Regions from separate parts of the Homo sapiens genome. Here region 1 is linked to region 2. Evidence: promoter capture Hi-C in 16 types of primary human blood cells and fetal thymus (Javierre and others, 2016). All regions are on one chromosome and are shown on one strand. The core of a region is centred on a gene start or on the middle of the fragment in contact, and the rest is flanking DNA. Distances in the headings are between cores, read along the strand shown.

Evidence for each region. Contacts are between HindIII fragments. The CHiCAGO score rates a contact against its expected background, and 5 or more counts as called.
Region 1: the fragment with the promoter of CLIP2 here is called in contact with the fragment with the promoter of RFC2 in region 2 in 2 of 17 cell types (fetal thymus and naive CD8 T cells); the score reaches 6.2 in fetal thymus.

Annotation. Positions count from the first base shown.
Region 1 is chr7:74,285,433-74,291,735 of GRCh38, reverse strand. CLIP2 (CAP-Gly domain containing linker protein 2) reads right to left here and starts at 2,329. Exons shown (of 17, transcript NM_003388.5): 1 at 2,002-2,329. LOC107986742 (a long non-coding RNA gene) reads left to right here and starts at 2,429. Exons shown (of 2, transcript XR_001745024.2): 1 at 2,429-2,674. RefSeq lists enhancers at 687-1,330, 1,331-1,975 and silencers at 1,851-1,920, 1,941-2,410. The HindIII fragment of the contact is 3,709 bases long and covers 775-4,483 here.
Region 2 is chr7:74,252,379-74,257,904 of GRCh38, reverse strand. RFC2 (replication factor C subunit 2) reads left to right here and starts at 3,506. Exons shown (of 11, transcript NM_181471.3): 1 at 3,506-3,634; 2 at 5,407-5,476. The coding sequence starts at 3,522. RefSeq lists enhancers at 3,113-3,192, 2,666-3,268, 3,603-3,832, 3,269-3,871, 3,872-4,474 and 2 more and a silencer at 3,433-3,552. The HindIII fragment of the contact is 11,375 bases long and covers 1-5,526 here.

The sequences.
Region 1 (6,303 bases), core at 1,080-3,579, 35 kb before region 2:
CCGGGTCAGGGCTAACCAGCAAGGGTGCTGAAGAAGGACAAACAGCCTGGAAGGGGCACGAGCCTCCTCTCCCTGAAACGTGTGTGAGTGGGGCCAGGAAGCCACTCTGTACGGCAGCAACAACACTTATAGGACATCTACTCTGTCACAGGGCACACAGTTCTCCTAACAACCCTAAAAGCCAGATACCATAAGGATCCCAATTTTACAGATGAGGATGTCGAGGCAGAGAGAGATGCAATGTGCAAGGTCACATAGCTAGGGAGTGGCAGAGCTGGGATTTGAACCCGGGCTGTTAAGCTCCAGCATCTGAACTCTTCACCGCCAAGGTAGACAGCAGATGCCGGAAAGCGATTACTGCTCCTTGGAGTAAATTCCCCCTGCTGGGACTTTGGGCTCTGAGTGCAGAATTCCAGGCACCACCTTCCCAGCCTGCACGGTGCTGAGGGCTGGAGTTTGCAGGTGCACACAGGTGTGTGTGGAGGAGGCTCCTCCCAGGCGCCTCCACCTGCCTCTTCTGCCTTTGGAGCCCCTCTCCATCTCCACCGCCTCCACCTGTCCTGAAGCCAGAATCCCATCATTCCCCCGCAAGGCACTGCAGACAAGAATGCATCCTGTGCTCAACGCAGGTCTAAGTTCCTTAAATCCTAAGCTGTTTCTCTAACCCAATAGCCTCCTTTTCTGACTCCAAGCCCTTATTCACGCTATTTCTCCTGCACGAAACCCCCTTCAGGCAACCTGGCAGCAAACTTCTGCAAGATGCTCTATGAAGCTTCCTGGTCTGCCCCATCCTCCAGGGGACCCCCTCTATGCCCCCAGCTTCCCCACTAATGCACTCATCAACCCCCGGGGCTGCACTTTTTGGGGACACCGAGGCTGCTGTCCTGTGGACCAGCCAGCCCCTAGAAGTGCCAGGCCAGGTAACAGCAGCTGAATGAAGGGCTTATTGTTTACATTTACAACCGAAAGGGAAGAGGCTTCTGAAGCACACACGTGGTGCTCCCCGCACCCTCCTCCTCCTCTGCCCACAGCCCTAGGCCACCCCACCCACCTCCCTCAGGCATCGCGCAAGAGTGACGGCAGACCCCCTCATCCCAGACCCCCACTTCTCACCCAGAAGTGAGAGGAGGGGTCTCAGACGTTGGGGGACACACTGCTGGGTGGGTGATTTCCCCCCAAGGTGCTCCCTCTGCCCGTCCTTCCCAGGGTGGGGCTGGGGCCTGCGTGGCAGTGCCCAGTGGGCACCCGCTCGGCCCAAGCTCTGCCTGAAAGGTCCAAACGGGCGGGCCCTGAAGGTTCAGCCAAGCATCCTCCGCGGCCGCCGCCCCTCCCCGGGAGGAGGGCAGAAAATCTGCTGCCTCACCAGCCACCAGCGCCAGCTTGGGGGGACACCCCCTGAGAGAAGCCGCCCGCCTCAATCTCCTCCTACCCCACCTCAGCCAAGCACTTCAACCAAGTTTTGCAAAGGCCATCGGCCAGGCGACCCCAGAGGGTGTAGCAGGGAGGAGAGGGGGGCAGTCCCTGTTCTCCCAGACCCCAGGTTTGGAGATGGGGGCTGCATGGCCGCGCCCACCAGGCTGTGCTCCCCAGGCTCTGTGAGCCCAGAGAGCCCTGCGGCGCGTCCAGCCGTCTTGCTCTGCCCTTGGAAGGGGGTACGGGCGACCCTCCAACAGAAGGGCCAAACCCCCGTCCGAGGGTAGGGACCCCGATGAGGCTGGTGATGCCTTCAACAGGGGGACCCGCAGCCCGGGAATAGCCCCCAACCCTGGCACCCCAAGCAGTGCCCCCTCCTCTCCTACAAGCAACGGGGAAGTTGGGGCACACCCCAGCCAGCTCCCGCCCACGCCCACCGGCCGGCCTCGAACCCTCCCGCCCCCGCCCACGCCCCGACAATGCCTCCGGGCCCGCAGCCCCGCTTTCGGCCAGGCCGCCGCCCCCCGCATCTCTCCGTCCTTTGTTGCCCGCGCGACCCCCTCCCTCGGCCCCTCCAGCAGCCCCTACCTTCGTCCTTCCAGCATCAGGCTAAGCGGCGGGAGGCCCGGAGAGCCCCGGCCTCCTCCTCTCGGGCCCGGGCGCGCTGGGGGGCGAGGATGCTGCGGCCCCTCCCTGCGCGGCGCTGCCCACCGGCTGCACCCCCTCCTGGCGCCGGGGATCCCCGCGATAGGTGCTCAGGGCCCGGGCCTCGCGCCACGTCTCTGGGAAGGCGGGAGGCGCGCACCGAGGCCGCCCAGCAGCCGCCTGCGCGCCCCGCGGCCGAGCCGAGCTGAGCGCCCGCGGAGCCAGCGGAGCCAGCGGAGCCAGCGGCCCGGCTCCGGGAGGGAACAAAAGGGGCCGGCGCAGGGGCGGGCGCGGGAGGGCGGGGCCTGGGGCGGGCGGGAGGGGGGGGCGGGTCAGGCGCGCGTGGGCGGCCTCGCGGTTTTCAGGCCTCAGTGCCTCGCGGAAAGCAGGCGGGCGGGCGGAAAACGCGGAGCAACCTCTTCCCCCTCTCCCCGCTCCATCTCCTTCCCTTCCCAGGCCGCAGCTGTCCTTTGTGGGGCGTCCAGGGTTCGCCCACATCCACCTCCGCGCTGGGCACCTGGTGGTGCTTACATCGCGTTTGGTGAAACGCATCCTCCAGCCATGCTATGCTTGCAAAGATGTCTCTGGTCATTGGGAAGGACGGCAGCTTGGGAAGGTGAGATGCTGTTGGCGCTGGACAGAAAGGATGAGGAGGGGGACAGTGCAGCTGGGGCGAAAACTTCAGGTCTGTGTTGGGGCCAGCGTGGGTGGGGAACTGTGGCACAGGGTCTCATGGTTATCAAGGATCTCATAGCCTGGGCAGTGTCTCACGCCTGTAATCCCAGCACTTCAGGAAGCCAAGGCGTGCAGATCGCCTGAGGCCAAGAGTCCGAGAACAACCTGGGCAACGTAACCTTCGTCTCTACAAAAAATACAAAAATTAGCTGGGCGCGCGCCTGCGGTCCCAGCTACTGGGGAGGCTGGGGTGGGAGGATCGCTGGAGCCCAGGAGGTCGAGGCTGCAGTGAGTCATGATCAAGCCACGGCCCTTCAGCCTGGGTGACAGAGCGAGACTCCGTCCCAAAAGAAAAAAAAAAAAGGATCTCATGGTGATCAGCTTCCAAGATACAAATGAACCCTCCCCAGGACAGGATGCATGTACTGCTATTTCAGAGGAGTTGAGGCAGCTGCCAGGTCCCCTCCTGCGTGGAGAGGCAGATGCCAAGTGACAGCTCAGGAACTAAACAGTGACCAAGCCCCAGCCCCTGTCCATGCCCAGGCTGCGGTTGGCTTCTGTGGCTTGGTTTCCCTCTGTCCCCCCTTGATAAGCTCGCCTGGATGCCTTTGACCTAGCTGGCCGTTCTACCAGTCCTGCCCTGCCCCCTTTCTCTGTTTGACAAATCATATTCCCCCTTCAAAGCACAGCTTAAATGTCCCTGCTTTTCCCTTGAGTGCAGGAATGTGGGTGTTGGGGGAGGTTGTGGTCTGTATGGTGAGACCACTGTTCTGCGGGAGAGAAGTGCCACATACGATCTTGTTCCTATCCCCTAAGGGACCCAGTGCAATGCTTGGCAGAGGGTAGACATCCAGTAATATTTGTTGAATGAATGAATGAACTTACTAAGTTAACATTACCACCCCTCAACTGTCTTGGTATCCATAATCTTTGAGAAGTGAGTGAACCTTTTTTTAGAGAAGGGGTCTCACTCTGTCACCCAGGCTGGAGTGCAGTGGTGTGATTACAGCTCACTGCAGCCTCAAACTCCCAGGCTCAAATGATCCTCCTGCCTCAGCCTCCAGAGTAGCTGGGACTACGGGCATGCACCATGCCCGGCTAATTTTTTGTGTTTTTTATAGAGATGGGGTCTCATTATGTTGGGGTCCAGGCTGGTCTTAAACTCTTGGCTTCAGATGATCTTCCCACCTCAGCCTCCCAAAGTGCTGGGATTACAGCTGTGAGCCACCGTGCCTGGCCTAAACATTTTGACCTCAGTTTCCCCATCTGTAAATTGGGGAGAGTGTTTCAATTCAGTTCAGCGAACATGCAATGCTGTAATGATGGAGGCTGGGCATGGGGTCAGCCCTGAGGGGGTGCCCAGTTGGTGTGGAGAGCCAGACTTGGAGACTAATAAGGGAGGAGGTTCAGAGTGAACTCCAGAAAGACTGGGCTTCTGTAGGAGGTGTGAACCCATAGGGAGGGAGGGGACTCAGGGTGGAGAGGGCAGTGTTCAGGAAACAGGGAGCTAATTGTTCCTTGTGGCTGGGATGCATAACCTGTATATCAACAGTTATAAACCAGCCAGGCACAGTGGCTCACACCTGTAATCCCAGCACTTTAGGAGGTGGTGGCGGGCAGATAACCTGAGGTCAGGAGTGCGAGACCAGCCTGGCCAACGTGATGAAACCCCATCTCTACAGAAGATGCAAAAAATAGCTGGGTGTGGTGGTACATGCCTGTAATCCCAGCTACTCGGGAGGGTGAAGCTTGAGAATGGCTTGAACCCAGAAGGCGAAGGTTGCAGTGAGTGGAGATCATACCACTACACTCCAGCCTGGGCAACAGAAGGGATGGGATGGGATGGGACGGGACGGGACGGGATGGGGCAGGGATTTGCCAAGGTGACATGGGTCTTGCTGGGATGTACCTGAGCTCACCAGCCCCTGCCCAGCAGATCTAGCCTCCCACATGTGCCTCAGGAGGTAGGCAGGGGCCCCCAACCTTCACAGGTACTGCCTCCCTCACTGATGGCCCCCAGTATTATTCAGAGCAACAGCCTGCGGTCAACAGACCTTACCTGGCCGCTGGTGAGTGGAGCTTCAAAGAGCAAGTCACCTGAGAGGGACACCTTTTGTTCTTGCTCCAGATGAGAGAAGACAGGCTTCTGTCTTGTTACAGTTTGCATTTGGGGGGCCGGGCACAGTGGCTCACACCTGTAATCCCAGCACTTTGGGAGGCCAAGGCGGGCGGATCACAAGGTCAGGAGTTCGAGACCAGCCTGGCCAACATGGTGAAACTCCGTCTCTACTTAAAATACAAAAAATTAGCCGGGCATGGTGGCACACACCTGTAATCCCAACTACTTGGGAGGCTGAGGCAGGAGAATCACTTGAACCCGGGAGGCGGAGGTTGCAGTGAGCTGAGATCGCACCATTGCACTCCAGCCTGGGCAACAAGAGCAAGACTTTGTCTCAAAAAAAAAAAAAAAAAAAAGTTTGCGTTCGAGTTTTTCTGCTTCTTTCAGTAGATGAACCTGATGCTGTCTGATGTGAGGGTTGGGGTCCTGGCCTTGGCCCCTGCCCTGGCATCAGGCCTCCGTGATGGGTGGGGAGGCAGGCGGGGGGATCTGGAGGGGGTGTTCTCCCAGCCGACCTCTCACCCAGGCCTTTTGTCTCCACTGAAACTGCTGATTTGGTCATTTTCTTGCTGACGCCGGCTGTGACCAGCAGCCTCACGGGAGGATTTTTCATGGGAAGAGAGAGTTGGGAATAATTTTCGAGCCAGAGCTGAATTCTCTGAGGCCTGCAATGGGCCAGCCACGGGAGAGGCCTGGGCTGCTTTGCAGGTGGCGATCTCTCTGGTATACTATTTATTTATTTATTTATTTGTTTATTTATTATTTTACTTTTTCAGGGGTAGAGACAGAGGCTTTCTATGTTGCCCAGGCTGGTCTCGAAATCCTGGCCTCAAGTGATCCTCCCACCTCGGCCTCCCAAAGCGCTGGGATTACAGGCTCTGGGCACCACGCCTGGCCTATTTTTATTTTTTTATTTTTCATTTTAGAATCCATAGGACAGCTACAGGATGGGATATGTTTGCAGTGTCTGAACTGCTGTTTACAAGGCATTTGTTATAATGTGGGGAAACAGTTACGTATTTACACCCACCAGGAAAATACACTTCATGAAACTGCGGATATGGAGCCAAGCTTAGTGCCTCATGCCTGTCATCCCAGCGAGTGGGGAGACTGAGGTGGGAGGATCACTTGAGCCCACGAGTTGGAGGCTATAGTGAGTTATGATCATACCATTGCACTCCAGCCTGGGCAACAGAGCAAGATCCCATTTTATTTTATTTTATTTTTAAAATTGTGGGCCAGTTGTGGTGGCTCATGCCTGTAATCCCAGCACTTTGGGAGGCCAAGGCAGGAGGATTGCCTGAGCCCCAGAGTTGGAGACCAGCCTGGGCAACATGATGAAACCCTGTCTCTACTAAAAACACAAAAAGCTAGCCAGGCATGGTGGCACATGCCCGTAATCCCAGCTACTCAGGAGGCTGATGCAGGAGAATCGCTTGAACCCGGGAGGC
Region 2 (5,526 bases), core at 2,257-4,756:
GGCAGAAGTTGCAGTGAGCCGATATCATGCCACTGTGCTCCAGCCTGGGTGACGGAGTGAGACCCCATCTCAAAAAATAAATAAAGGCTGGGCATGGTGGCTCACGCCTGTAATCCCAGCACTTTGGGAGGCTGAGGTGGGCGGATCACCTGAGGTCGGGAGTTTGAGACCAGCCTGACCAACATGGTGAAACACCGTCTCTACTAAAAATACAAAATTAGCTGGGTGTGGTGGCACATGCCTGTAATCCCAGCTACATGGGAGGATGAGCCAGAAGAATTGCTTGAGCCCGGGATGCGGAAGTTGCAGTGAGCCGAGATCATGCCATTGTACTCCAGCCTGGGTAACAAGATCGAAACTCCATCTCAAAATAAAAAAAAAATAAAAACAAAAACAAAAAATAGCTTAAAATCACAAAGAAATCCACTTGAAAACAAATAATAAATTTTCTTTTTTTTTTTTTGAGATGGAGTTTCGCTCTTGTTGCCCAGCTAATTTTTGTATTTTTACTACAGATGGGGTTTCACCATGCTGGCCAGGCTGGTCTTGAACTCCTGACCTCGTGATCGGCCCTCCTCGGCCTCCCACAGTGCTGGGATTACAGGCGTGAGCCACCGACCTGGCCTAAATTTTCTTTTTTTTATAGAGATAGGAGTCTTGCTACATTGCCCAGGTTGGGCTCAAACGCCTGGTCTCAAGCGATCCTCCCGCCTGGGCCTCCCAAAGTGCTGAGATTACTGGCATGAGCCACCAGGCCCAGACTAAGATAATGAACTTTTAAAATTCAATGTAAACAAGGCAAACAGCATCAAGTGTGCATGACATTCTGGGCCAATGGAGGCTGGAGTGGGCAGAGAGAAAACCAGGCTATCCTGTAGTCCTGATCTTGGCACGCCAGCAGATTTTCAGCCTTACATCCTGCAACATAACTCAGGAAGTAAGCTAACGGTGAAAGTCAAGGTGTCATTCAAACTAAGATGTGTTGCCTGACTTCTCTGACAATTTGATTGGAAGCCTCTGGATTTGGGGAAAGAGGATTTTGGTTTCAATTTTATTTCCTTTCTACATGCTTCCTCTTGGTGTATAACTGCCTTGCCCTCTTGTGATGACAGTCTGGGAGCTTAGCCTCAGTGTGTATTTAATTTCCTGAGATTTGAAGGATTTGCTGGGAGGAATTCTCCGTGGCTACTCTATGCCCTTTCACAAGAGCCTGTGGTTTCCCCAGCACTCCCTGGTTCCCCAACATTGCTGTTTTTCAGTCCCAGGGGAGCGGCTGGAGTTTTTAAGTTCTGAGCTCTGTTTGGGCCCAAGTCCAATAGGTCACAAAAGGCTCAGTCTAAAAAAAAGAAATGTCCTGACAGTGCAGCTTTGCCCTAAGAGTCACCTCCATCTCTGGTTCTCCTGGCATTCCATCAGTTAGAGGAGAGCCCTAGCAGCGCCAAAAGGCCTCCTGTAGAGTGGGGGTTTTTGGAGAATTATGAAAGGAACCGTGTTCTGTACTTATTAAAAATTAGTTTCTAAACTGTGTTATGTGATGGGAGGGATGTGTGTCATAGTGATTACAAGGAAAACATGAAGATTACAAAGGAACAATCCTATGGAAAAACCGCGGAGACATTTCAAGAAAAGTGTATATTTCAAGAGGAGTGTGTATTTTCTCCTCCGGAAAAATAAAAGACCTGTGAATAATGATTGAAAAAACAGACAAGACCGCTCCATCAGTTTAAAGGGGGAATAGGGGAGAGATGGCCAATTCAAACATTTTTTCCAAATTACATGGAAAGAAAAACACTGTGTTAAGTTGTGAATCTGTATACGTTAATACTATCGTTAAAACCAACTGCTTGGCCAGACGCGGTGGCTCACACCTGTAATCCCAGCACTTTGGGAGGCTGAGGCAAGCGGATCACTTGAAGTCAGGAGTTTGAGACCAGCCTGGTCAACGTGGCGAAACCCCATCTCTACTGAAAATACAAGTATTAGCCAGGTGTGGTGGCACACGCTTGTAGTCCCAGCTACTCGGGAGGTTGAGGCAGGAGAATCACTTGAACCTGGGAGCCTGACATTGCAGTGAGCTGAGATCACACCACTGTACTCCAGTCTGGGTGACAGAGTGAGACTCCATCTCAAAAACAAAAAACAAGAAACAAAACAAAGAATGGTCAAAGCACTTGTGAATCTGAAGTACCTACTTTCTTTTCTTCTTATTTTTTTAGAAACAGGATTTCACTCTGTCCCCCGGGGCTGGAGTACATTGACTTGATCATGGTTCACTGTGGCTTCAACCTCATGGGCTCAACCGATTCTCCTGCCTCAGCCTCCCGAGTAACTGGGACTACTGTCGCGTACCACCACAACTGGATAATTTAAAAAATTTTTTTTGTAGAGATGGGGTCTCACCATGTTGCCCAGGCTGGTCTCAAACTCCTCGGCTTGAGGGATCCTCCCACCTTAGCCTCCCAAAGTTCTGGGATCATCATTATTGAATATTATGACAATTTGGGCTATGGGAGGAAAGATTGGGTAGAAAAACAGCCCATAAGAATGCTCAAAACCCTTGCAAGGTTGAAGTATTTACTTTTTCTTTTTTGAGACAGGGTCTTGCTGCAGACCAGGTTGGAGTGCAGTGGTGTGATCAGAGATCACTGCAGCCTGCACCTCCTGGGCTCAAGCACTCCTCCGCCTCAGCTTCCTGAGTAGCTGGAACTGCAGGTGCGCGCCACCACGCCCGGCTACTTTTTTAATTTTTATTTTTGTAGAGACGGGGATCTCACTTTGTTGCCCAGGCTGGTCTCGAACTCCTGGGCTTAATCGCTCTTCCGGTCTCTGTCCCCCAAAGTGCTGGGATTAGAGGGGTGAGCCACCGCACCGGCCTTGAGTCCCTATTTTCCTGGAATGAACATTGCATTTCATCTGACAAAAGGACGGTTTCAGTTTCCTCCTCTGCAAAATGGGGTGGGGGTGGAATTCCCATCTTGCAGCCGAGAATTCCCTGATAATAAACGTCGAGTACCGAGCGCGGTTGAGGCGCAGGAGCCTACCCAACGGGAGCAGCTCACTAGGACATTCAGAGCAATCTGGAAAAGTGGGCACGGGCAGCCCCAGACGTCATCCCCGGACCCCGCTGCCCAGCAGCGCCCGGACGCCAGCGTTGTCCGTGTCCCAACACCGAAGCCCGCGTTTGGCCGCAACCCCTCCAGGCCCTGCTCCTCCCACGCCGCCGCGGAGCGGATCTTCCACAGAAACCACACACAAACGTCCGTTCCGAGAGCGACCTGCTTTCTCGGAAGGCGTCGCGGCCACAGCTCGCCTTCCTGTCGCTCCCAGGCCGGGCGCCAGGTCTCCCATAGCAACCGCGGCCTCCAGCGATGGCCGCCAGGGCACCACCGGAACCCTCTTCGCAGGCACAGAGAGGCGCGGGTACGTAACTTCCGCTCGCGCCCGGCGGAAGCCAGGGGGCGGGGCTTGCGTGGCGGCGTCAAGGGGCGGTGCCTCGGGTGGCGGGAAGAGGAGGCGCGAGAATGGAGGTGGAGGCCGTCTGTGGTGGCGCGGGCGAGGTGGAGGCCCAGGACTCTGACCCTGCCCCTGCCTTCAGCAAGGCCCCCGGCAGCGCCGGCCACTACGAACTGCCGTGGTGAGGTCCCAGGCCGTAAAGAATGGGCGCGTTTGGACGTGAGGGTGGGCGAGTGGCGGGCCGTGCTCCGGAGAAACTCGGGGGTCAGGGGCTCGTTTTGGGGAATCCCGAGGGAGGAGGAGGCCCCGGGTGGCATCGAGATGATTTCAAGAAGGCGACGGACATGGATCGAGAGTGGCCGGTCTAAACTCTGCGAGCGGAGTCTCGCTCACTACAATGCTTATGACAATTAGGGCTACCCCGGGTGGCCACCTACTCTGACCTAGTTGGTTTTTTCAAAAGTTTTTGTGTATAGTAGTGTATGACCTAGTGTTTTCAAAAACTTCAATCTTTTAAAAAAAATATCGATTACATGTTGAAAATAATATTTTGACTGTTAGGTTCAATAACATTTACATTTGAAATTTTTTTAAAAAAATCAAGACGGGGGTTTTGCTGTGTTGCCCAGGCTGATGTCCAGCTCCTTGGCTCAAGTGATCCCCCTGCCTCAGCCTCCTAAGTAGATGGGACTACAGGCACGCACCACCATGCCCAGTTAATTTTTTTTTTTTAGATGGAGTCACACTTTGTCACACAGGCTGGAGTGCAGTGGTGTGATTTCTGCTCACTACAACCTGCATCTCCCTGGTTCAATCAATTCTGCCTCAGCCTTCCTAGTAGCTGGGATTACAGGCATGTACCATCACACCCTGCTAATTTTGTGTTTTTAGTAGAGGCTGGGTTTCACCATGTTGGCCAGGCTGGTCTCGAAGTCCTGATCTCAAGTGATCCGTCCGCCTCGCCTTCCCAAAGTGCTGGGATTACAGGCATGAGCCACTGTACCCAGCCTAGGCCTACGGTGTCTAGCCAGCTATGCTGTGTATTTGGCACACGTCTGCAGAAACTGGCAGGTAATCCTTGCCTGGCATGGTGGCTCACGCCAGTAATCCCAGCACTTTGGGAGGCTGAGGTGGGCAGATCACCTGAGGTTGGTAGTGACCCAAGATCGCACCATTGCACTCCAGCCTGGGCAACAAGAGCAAAACTCTGTCTCCAAAAAAAAAAAAAAGAAAAGAAACTGGCAGGTAAGGGATGAGAAAGGAGCTTGGTTGCACCCATGTTGTCACACCAAATGATGTCAGTGCTGTATGTGCTGGGCCTCTTGTGACGGGCGGACAGGGTTGCAGCACAGTGTCACATTGCTCCAGATGACCTGTGCTGGCCGTGCTCCAGCAGCAACAGGTGTTTCTCTGCTGTGGCAGGTTTGAAGCCTATGCTGTACAATTCTCATGCCTTTAACTTTTCAAATGGCACTTGGGCATCTTATTACATTTTATTTATTTATTATTTATTTTTGAAACAGAGTCTCACTCTGTAGCCCGGGCTGGAGTATAGTGGCATGCATGATCTCAGCTCACTGCAACTTCTGCCTCCCAGGTTCGAGCTACTGTGCCTTAGCCTCCCAAGTAGCTGGGATTACAGACGCACACCACCACATCCAGCTAATTTTTGTATTTTAAGTAGAGATGAGGTTTCACCATGTTGGCCAGACTGGGCTCAAACTCCTGACCTCAATTGATCCACCCGCCTCAGCCTCACAAAGTGCTAGGATTACAGGTGTGAGCCACTGCGCCTGGCTGTCATCTTATTACATTTAAAACTTGCAACCATTTGGCATAGTTGTACTGAATGTATGTAATTTTTTAACAAAGCTCTCAGGATAACCCTTAGGTGCTTTTTGTGGGGTAGTGTGAAGATAACCATGTCAGCATTTTTATGCATTTTCTTAACAGGGTTGAAAAATATAGGCCAGTAAAGCTGAATGAAATTGTCGGGAATGAAGACACCGTGAGCAGGCTAGAGGTGAGTGGCTTTTTTTTTTTTTGAGACAGAGTCTCGCTCTGTCGCCCAGG